Regions from separate parts of the Homo sapiens genome. Here region 1 is linked to region 2. Evidence: promoter capture Hi-C in human tissues and cell types (Jung and others, 2019). All regions are on one chromosome and are shown on one strand. Each heading gives the region's core, a stretch centred on a gene start or on the middle of the fragment in contact. The rest is flanking DNA. Distances are from core to core; before and after follow the strand shown. Region 1 overlaps KCNJ12 (potassium inwardly rectifying channel subfamily J member 12). Region 2 holds the start of KCNJ12 (potassium inwardly rectifying channel subfamily J member 12).

Region 1 (3,946 bases), core at 798-3,297, 36 kb before region 2:
TGGCCAGGCTGGTCTCAAACTCTTGACCTCAGGTGATCCACCTGCCTCGGCCTCCTGAAGTGCTGGGATTACAGGCGTGAGACGTTTTCTCTTTTGCTTCTTGTTGTCCTTCCCAGGGCCTAGAATGCGGCCTGCCACCCCTGTCGCCACCCACTTTGAACACCCCAAGCTGGGTCCCACCACCCTCCTGACACCCACATGCCCCACTCTACAGTGTCCACCCACATGCCATGCTTGCAGCTTCTTGGTCACCAGCAGTGCCAAAGAGGGTAAGATCTGGCACCCAGACATGGGCTGCTCCCTGGCTGACCTCAGCCGAGGGCCCTCCCCAGCCCCTGCTTCCCGCATCTCTAAGGAAGATTGCAAGGCTGCTACCCTAGCACCTGGGCAGTGCTCAGGGGTGTCACCTGTTCCCAGCACCACCCTCAGCTCACTGCAGGCAGCACCTGGCTCCAGGCCAGCCTACTGCACATTCAGGCACCCCAGGACAGGCCCCGCAGCAGGGCATCCATGCCAGCCAGAACAAAGCCTGCTCTCAGCCACTGACGTGCCCACCCCCGGGACACACAGGCTGTGCTGCCCCCACTAAAGGCCCCACACTGGCCTGTCAGTGACAGGCTAGGGCATCTGCAAGCTAGGGGCTATGGCACCGCCTGGCCCACAGCCACATCTGGATGGCAGCCTGCCTTGGCTGGGCTAGGCTGGAAGCAGGGAGACCTGGGCCTTCCAGCATTAGCCCCGACGGAGGAGCTGGACAGGCCCACCCCTCCCCGCCCACAGGGACCCAGCACCCCCAGTCCCAGTCCAGTCACACCATAACCTCAGAGCTAGACAAAGCCTTCTCCCTTAGCACACCTGCAGCCACATTACTCAGTTACGAAGACACTGAGGCCCCAAGAGAACATCCTGGGGGGATGGCACCACTGTGAACCAGGCGCTGCACACAGCCTTCTGCAGGCCTCTCAAGCCCTCCAGGGAGGGGTGGGCCACCCTGCTTTACAAACAAGGACCTGGAGGCCCAGAAGCCAGAATGGACTTGTCCCAGTCCCATAGGCAGGAGGCAGCAATGCCAGGACTCAGCCCCGGTCTGTGTGACCCAGCTTCTGGCCACGTCCACACTAGTCTGGGCCTCGGAGCGGGTGCGGCCTCTGAGCTCTGCTCCAAACACCTGAGCAACAGGTGATGGTGGAGCCGCCTGCCCGGCCAGGCTGTGGAACACTCCCAGGGGCTGCCTGGTTGCTTAGCCCCGAGCCCGCTGGTCCGAGCAGCACACAGCAACTGCCGCCTGAGAGAGACACAGGGAGAGCAGGCGGGGTCCTGGGCGCCTTGGGGGACAGATCCATCAACAGCTGCCCTCAGATCGTCCTCTCAACAACCCGGGGGTGCAGCCACCATCCAGGTTCAGAGAAGTTAAGTGACTTCCCCCAGGCCACACAGCCATTAAGCAGGAGAGTTGAGTTTTAAACCACCTCTAGCGCCGTCCCCCACCATGGGCCCCCAAGCTCTGCAGGGATGCCTTTCCTTACTCTGCCGTCCTCCCCCAACACCGCTGTGGCTGACCACCTCACCATGACGCTGAGGAGCTGGGACGCAGGGCCGGAATGGTGGACACTGCTTCTGCCTGGGCCTGGAAGTAGGGAGCCGGCAGCAGGGGGGACCCCTGAGGCTGTGCTGGGAAGGGGGCTCAGCCCCAGATTCCTGGACCCTCCAGAAAGAGGCAGCCAGGGCCGGGGCACTCAGACGCCGGCGTGAGGCCACCAGCTGACAGGGGCTGGATTTGTGTGGCCCAGGGGCCTTGAGGGACTTCCAGCGGGTCATGGCTGCTCCAGCCCCTGCTCCGAGCAGCTCAAAGCCTGCAAGGAACAGAATCACAAGAATTAAAGGCCAGAGAGCCCGGTCTGCATGTGCTCCCAGCAGCTGGCGGCCTCGAAACTGGCCAACTACCAGACTGGTGAGGGTGCTGCCACAGCTCCTGGCATCTCTGCCAGGGCTGGGCACCGCAGACCTGCCCAGATGGTGTCATACAGGCTTGGAAACCCCCACTTCTGTCGACGTTCCTCTCTGCGTGGTTTTACCACACAGAGAGCATCAACAAGGTCAAGTTCATGCCCCACTCCCTCATTTCTCAGAGCCAAAAACTGACAAAGACACCTGTCCCAGGACCCCTGGAAACTGAGCAGAAGAGAGAGTTGGAGCCCAGAATGTCAGTCCTCAGCCTCACACAGCCCTGCTCTGCCGTGTGTGCGTGTGTGTGTGTGTGAGAGAGAGAGAGAGAGAAACCCTCCCCAGGGGTGCTGGGAGCCCCCTCACTGGGCACTTGGTGAATACAGCACCACAAAGACAGACCCAGAAGGGGACCCTGGCATAGAAACCCTAGCACCACAAGCTAGACAATGTCTCAAGAACACTCCTGCGTAAACACAGGTGTGGCAAGATGTTACACAACCATGCGGCCTTCAAGGTCGCAATATAAGAAATATAGGACAATATCCTCCACCAGGGACACACAGGCCTTTTTGGCTCTTGCTCAATGGGGTGCATACAGTGAAATCAGACAAGACATGAAATCAGAGAAACTGTTTTGCTGGAAGAGGCCTTAGCAAGCAAGAAGGCTGGCTCCCCATTTCACAGATGGGAGAACCAAGTCCAAAAAGAAAAAGAGACTTGTCCCAGGTCACAAAGCAATTCAAGGGCCAAGACAAGGTGCTCACTACTAAAGGTAGGACCGTTTTCCGCAGACACCCAGGTTGGCCTGCCAGGGTCCCAGGGTCGCCGGGAGGGGAATGGGAGAGGGGCGCTGGGGTACACTACCTGAGCTAGACAAGGCGGTTTCAACACCAAGGGGCAGTGAAGCAAACCCAGGAGGGAGAGAGCAGGCAGTGGGGAGAGAGCACGGGCCCGGCAGACCCCCGGAGATCCCTGCTTTCCTGCTGGCCACAGTGCCTACAGACGCAGCCTCCCAGCGACCAGTCCACTTGAAGAACAGACCAGGACCTGGGCTGGGAGCTTTTAGAGAGGATGCCAGACGGCAGCTGCCACGTGACCTAAGGGTGGGGTCCAGGAGTCACCGGGAGGTGCTTCCGGATGGAACTGGATGCCCCATGCCCACTGCCCTGAGGCCCTGGGCTTCTCAGGTTTCGGTGACATCCGGGAGGAGCTCAGGGCAAGGCCTGGACCCACATTCCCAGACACCAAGAAAGCACTGACCGGAAGGGAGAGTGCAGGCGCCTGCATCACCCAGGGTAAGACATAGGGACTCGGAGGGGGAGGCGCCAACAGCCCCCATCCCCCATGCAGAGACTGTTCAGCTAGCTGGGGCGCCTCACGAGGCACGAACACAGCACTCAGTATCTATCAAGTGCTTACTACCTGCCACGTGCTCTTCTAAGAGCTTTAATAAACTGATTCATTTAATCCCTTCCATCACACTGTGATTATTATCCCCATTTTCCAGATGAGCAGACGGAAGCCTAGGAAGATTGAGTCACTGTGATGGTTACACAGCCTTTCAGGAGTGAAGCTTCCAGGCTGGGCTGTAGGGGTGAAACCAGTGCCCCACAACACCAAGACCTGAGGCCTGACTGTGTGCGTGGCACTGCAATCCTTTTGGTCCCAAGCCCCTGCAGTCCCAGGTGGTGATGAGATGTAGACTGCTGCAAATCGGCACTCAAAAGCACAGGTTCAAGGGCCCTCACCAGCACTCCAACCCACGGCCACTCACCCTCATTCGGAGATGGGGCACTCTACCTCATGATCAAGCCTCACCGTTGGAAGACCCCTCAGAGATCACTCAATGCAGGGAAGGCTGGCGCACGCCTCCCCGCCCAAGGTGCCTGCTCCAGCCTCGCCCAGGCAAGCACCATTCCTCAGCCACAGAGCTTCATCCACTGCATCCAGAGCAGCTCAGAATCTTTCCTAATCCAGGCACCATTCATCAGATGCAGCA
Region 2 (3,914 bases), core at 1,364-3,863:
TGCATGGTTTTAGGCAATACCCCTCCACCACTTCCCAGGCACCTCTTCCTTCCAGCACAGTTGAGGCACATTCCTGGAGGGGTCCCCTCCGGGGCAGCCTGGAAACCTTATGGGGTTTTGACGGGGTAGCTGCAGGGGGAGTGTCCAGAGATGGACTGACAGCTCAGGTCCTGCCCCTCCCAGAGAAGGCTCCACCCCCTTCAGTGCTGGGGATGAGGGGTGTCAGCCATGCCCTCCCCTGGGAGGGGAAAAAGGAGGTGATAGAGGACTTGGAGCCCCTACCTGCCAGCTCTGGGTCAACAGCCAGCATTTACAGACTGCCTACTGTATGCCTACAGCGGCCCTCCAGTGGAGAAGAGGGGTGTCCCTGTGGCCCAGCACACTGGAGCCACCCTCCTCGTCTCCAGGGTGCTCGAGTGAGTGCCCTCCGCCCTCACTCCCTGCTCTCTCTCAGGCGGCTTGGCCCCACCAAATGGCAGGCCCCCAGGGTCCCCCTCCTAGAGCTGCCAACCTCGGGTCCCCTGTCTGGTTGGAGGTGCCACCAGAGAACTGAGGGGCAGACTTCGCTGTGAAGTCTTTTGTTGGGGGGGGCGGTCCCAGCAGACACTGAGGGGCTCTTCTCAGAATACAGAAGGGAGTACCCCTCAAAAAGAGCGAAAGCCTCTGGTGGCGCCCAGGGCTGAGATGGACCTCCCCTCTCTGACCCTCGCCCGCCACAGGGCGGCGGTCCAGGGCGGAGCTGCGCGAGGAGGGGCCGCGGAGGTGCAGCGCAGCGCGAGGGAGGCTGGGGTCCAGCCGCGCGGCCAGGGACCGGCTCTCCTTTGGCATCTCAGAGGGGGCGAAGGCTAGGCCCAAGGCTAACGCCTTCCGGGTTCGCACCTTCCAAAGGCGGCTGCCGATTTCAGTGGCGTGTGGGCGCCTCGGCGCTCTCGGAGACGGAGCCTGTGAACCTGGGTTTGGGGCGCAGATGTGGGAGCCAGGAGGTCCCCAGCGCTTTATTGCAGGGCTCGAACCTGGGTATAGGGGAGCAAAAAAGAAACTAGAAATGGCCACAGGCAGCGCGGTACTCTAAGATGGGAACGCCCCCTGGGAAATGGGGAGGGGGAGGTCCCAGGTGCGGGCGAGTCCAGGCTGTGAGGAGGCAGGAAAACCTCCCAGAACAAGACCGTCCCCAAAGAAACACTTTGACCCCCATTCTGATCACAGGTTTTAAAATATTCACATGACATGGGCACGCTGGATCAAAACCGAGGCACAGACACTCGCTTGGGCCTCAACTCCCATCTGAACCCCCCAAGGAGCGCCCCACCCCAGCTGTCTCTGCCCATGAGCCCCTGATTCCCGCCCCGCTCCCCCAGGGCACCCGGAGAGGCCGTGCGCGCGCAGGGTGGACCCTGGCCCTGAAACCCTGGGAGCTTCTCAGCCAGCGGCCATCCCCTCGGAGATCAAGGCCGACTTCTAAAAGCAAAAGGGAGCCTCTGGACTTGGCTGACTTGCTGGCATGGAATCATTTCCAGAATATTTTTACTCCATTACAGCACGGGAGGTGAGAAAGAGACACGACTCCAAGAACCCGCAGGTCTCTGACGGGAGGCATTCTCGGGGCGGCTCATATAGCCCGGGCGCCCACCTCCGAACCCCACCTCGATCGCGGGGTCTCCGGGAAGGTCACGCGTAGGACCCGTGCCGCGCGCCAGAGTGCTTCCGCACGCTCCCTCCCGAGCCCCCTAGTGCAAACCAGTCAGAGGGGGGCCGAGGGCTCCTCAAAGTTTCCCGGAGCGCCCCCCAGGACGAAGGTTAGCCAGGAGCAAAGTTCCTTGTGGTGGTAGCCGGAGACATGGCAGGAAAAGAAAAGCTCGCAGTCAGCATTTCCTCCGATGTCTCACCAAGGGAGGGAAAAAAATAAAACGAGAGGAAGAAAACACCCTCCCGCTCCACCTTCCCTGTTGCTGCACAACCTCGTGCTAGCTCCGGGCCGGGCTAGTGGCGAGGCGCGGCCTGCGGGGAACTGGGGCCGGGCCCGGGAGGGACCATGCGCCCGCGGCCGCGCACTTACCTCGGTCAGTGGCCCGGGCGCGGCGCGCTCGGCGTCCTCCAAGCTCCGGGCGGCCGTTCCTGGCCCCGGCAGCTGCCGCGCTGGCTGCATCGCCGCCGCTGCCGCCACCGCCTCAGGGCAGCTCCCGGGGGCGCTCCATGCCGAGGGGCGCGTCTTCTCTGCAAAGCGGATCGCCCTGGTCCAGCCACGGGTCGGGGGCGCGCGCCTGGACGGCGCCCCCGGCCGCTGGGCGCTCGCTTGGGCCGGGGCGGCTGGCGTCGGTCCCTCGGTCCGGCTGTGAGCACGGCCGGCCCACCCCCTCCCCCGCCGGCTGTTATCTGATCTCGGGCAGGGCCCGGCGCGCTCCCCTACGCCCCGGCGCCCCGCACCTCCTCGCAGGCTCTGACCGCGCCAGTCCCCCTCCCCCGGCTACTGTTCCCAGGGAGGCGGCAGCAGTGGCGGTGTGGCCGGGAGAAGACGGGGAGCGAGGAATGGAGGGCGAGGAGGCGGCGGGAGGCAGAGGCTCGGCGCGCACCCAGCTCCGCGCCTCGCTCCACCGGAGCTCAGCTCGGCAACTCCTCTAACTCTCCGCGGAGAGCACGCCCGCCCCGCGCCGCGCCGCGCCGCGCAGCCGCTGCACCAGCCTACCACGGCTCCGGCCTGGCCCCGAGCCCCTCCTAGTCCCGGGCCGCCCCCTACACACACACCGCCAGCCACTTGCGCACTGGGACGCGCGCGCGCACACACACATATATATATACACACACACACACACACACACACACACACACACAGGCACGACTTCCCGGGGACATGCGCGCACACACACATACACACACATGCAGGCACGTCCGCCGGGGACACGCGCGCACGCACAGGTGCATGGCGAGCACACACACAGGCATAAACATGCAGGATACATGCCCCCACATGCATGATGTTCGCAGGGGCACATGTGCACACTCGCTCATATGTGCACATGCAGGATGGCATCTGCACGTGTGCATACGCACACACAGGTCTAAGCTTGTGCATTCCCACAGAGCCCTTTTCCCCTGCACACCAGGCACGCACCCTCTACACACACCATCCCACCCTAATAGCATTTTTCTCCTCTCCATCTTGAGCTGCTTGGCTTCTCCCATCTCCTGCCTTCTCTGTGCTCCTCCCTGGACCTCTCTCTGCCGACCGGATCCCCATGTGACCCCCTTCTCTTTCGAGCCCCTGTCTCTGGAGGCTCAGGCTTTCTTCCCAACCTGTCCCCAAATGCCCTGCCCTCCCAGCTTTCTGAGGCCTATTGTCTGGGCCTCATATCTCTGAGCCTCCCGCAGGGGCCAAGTCTTTCATCCTGGCAGACAGACCTGCTCGCCTGGACACTGACCCAGGGGAACTCCATTTTGTCACCAGTCTGACCCCCAGCTCGGCCCTAGGGCCTCAGAATTGGGCCGAGGAGGCCAGTCTGTGCCCAGAGCATGAGCCTCAAAGGGCTCCTTGGCCCCCTTGGCCTCCAGCTTCCCCTTTAATGTGAAATATAATTATGTGTCTGCACAGCAGGGAGACTGGCTGCAGGATTCTAACCGAGGAGGACGGCTCTCTGGCCCGCACCCAGATTGCTGGCGGCTCAGAGCAGAGTGATCTGCAGGCCCCACCAGCCCTAGGATCCTGGCCCCAGGCAGCTGGTGGGTGAAATCCAGCCCAGCACTCACCGACATCAGTCTGCCCTGGGTTTGAATCCCACCTCAACTGACTAGCTGTGGGACAGGTCACTTCACCACTCAGTGCCTCTGTTTCCCTGTTGTCAGTAGAAATCACTACACTCATGGGGCTGTAGCAAGGATTAAATGAGATGAGTCTACCTAAAGTGCTTAGCACTTGACTT

Evidence for each region. Contacts are between HindIII fragments. The study calls those that stand out against the background at their distance.
Region 1: a contact is called between a fragment that was not itself captured here and the fragment with the promoter of KCNJ12 in region 2, in 1 of the 25 tissues and cell types used here (pancreas).

The regions. Positions count from the first base shown.
Region 1 is chr17:21,410,343-21,414,288 of GRCh38, reverse strand. All of the region lies in intron 2 of KCNJ12 (potassium inwardly rectifying channel subfamily J member 12), which reads right to left. Among named protein-coding and RNA genes, the nearest start is that of KCNJ12, 36 kb to the right of the region's middle. RefSeq lists enhancers at 2,584-3,543, 3,544-3,946. The HindIII fragment of the contact is 3,641 bases long and covers 227-3,867 here.
Region 2 is chr17:21,375,056-21,378,969 of GRCh38, reverse strand. It overlaps KCNJ12 (potassium inwardly rectifying channel subfamily J member 12), which reads right to left and starts at 2,613. Exons shown (of 3, transcript NM_021012.5): 1 at 2,057-2,613. The HindIII fragment of the contact is 9,762 bases long and covers 1-3,914 here.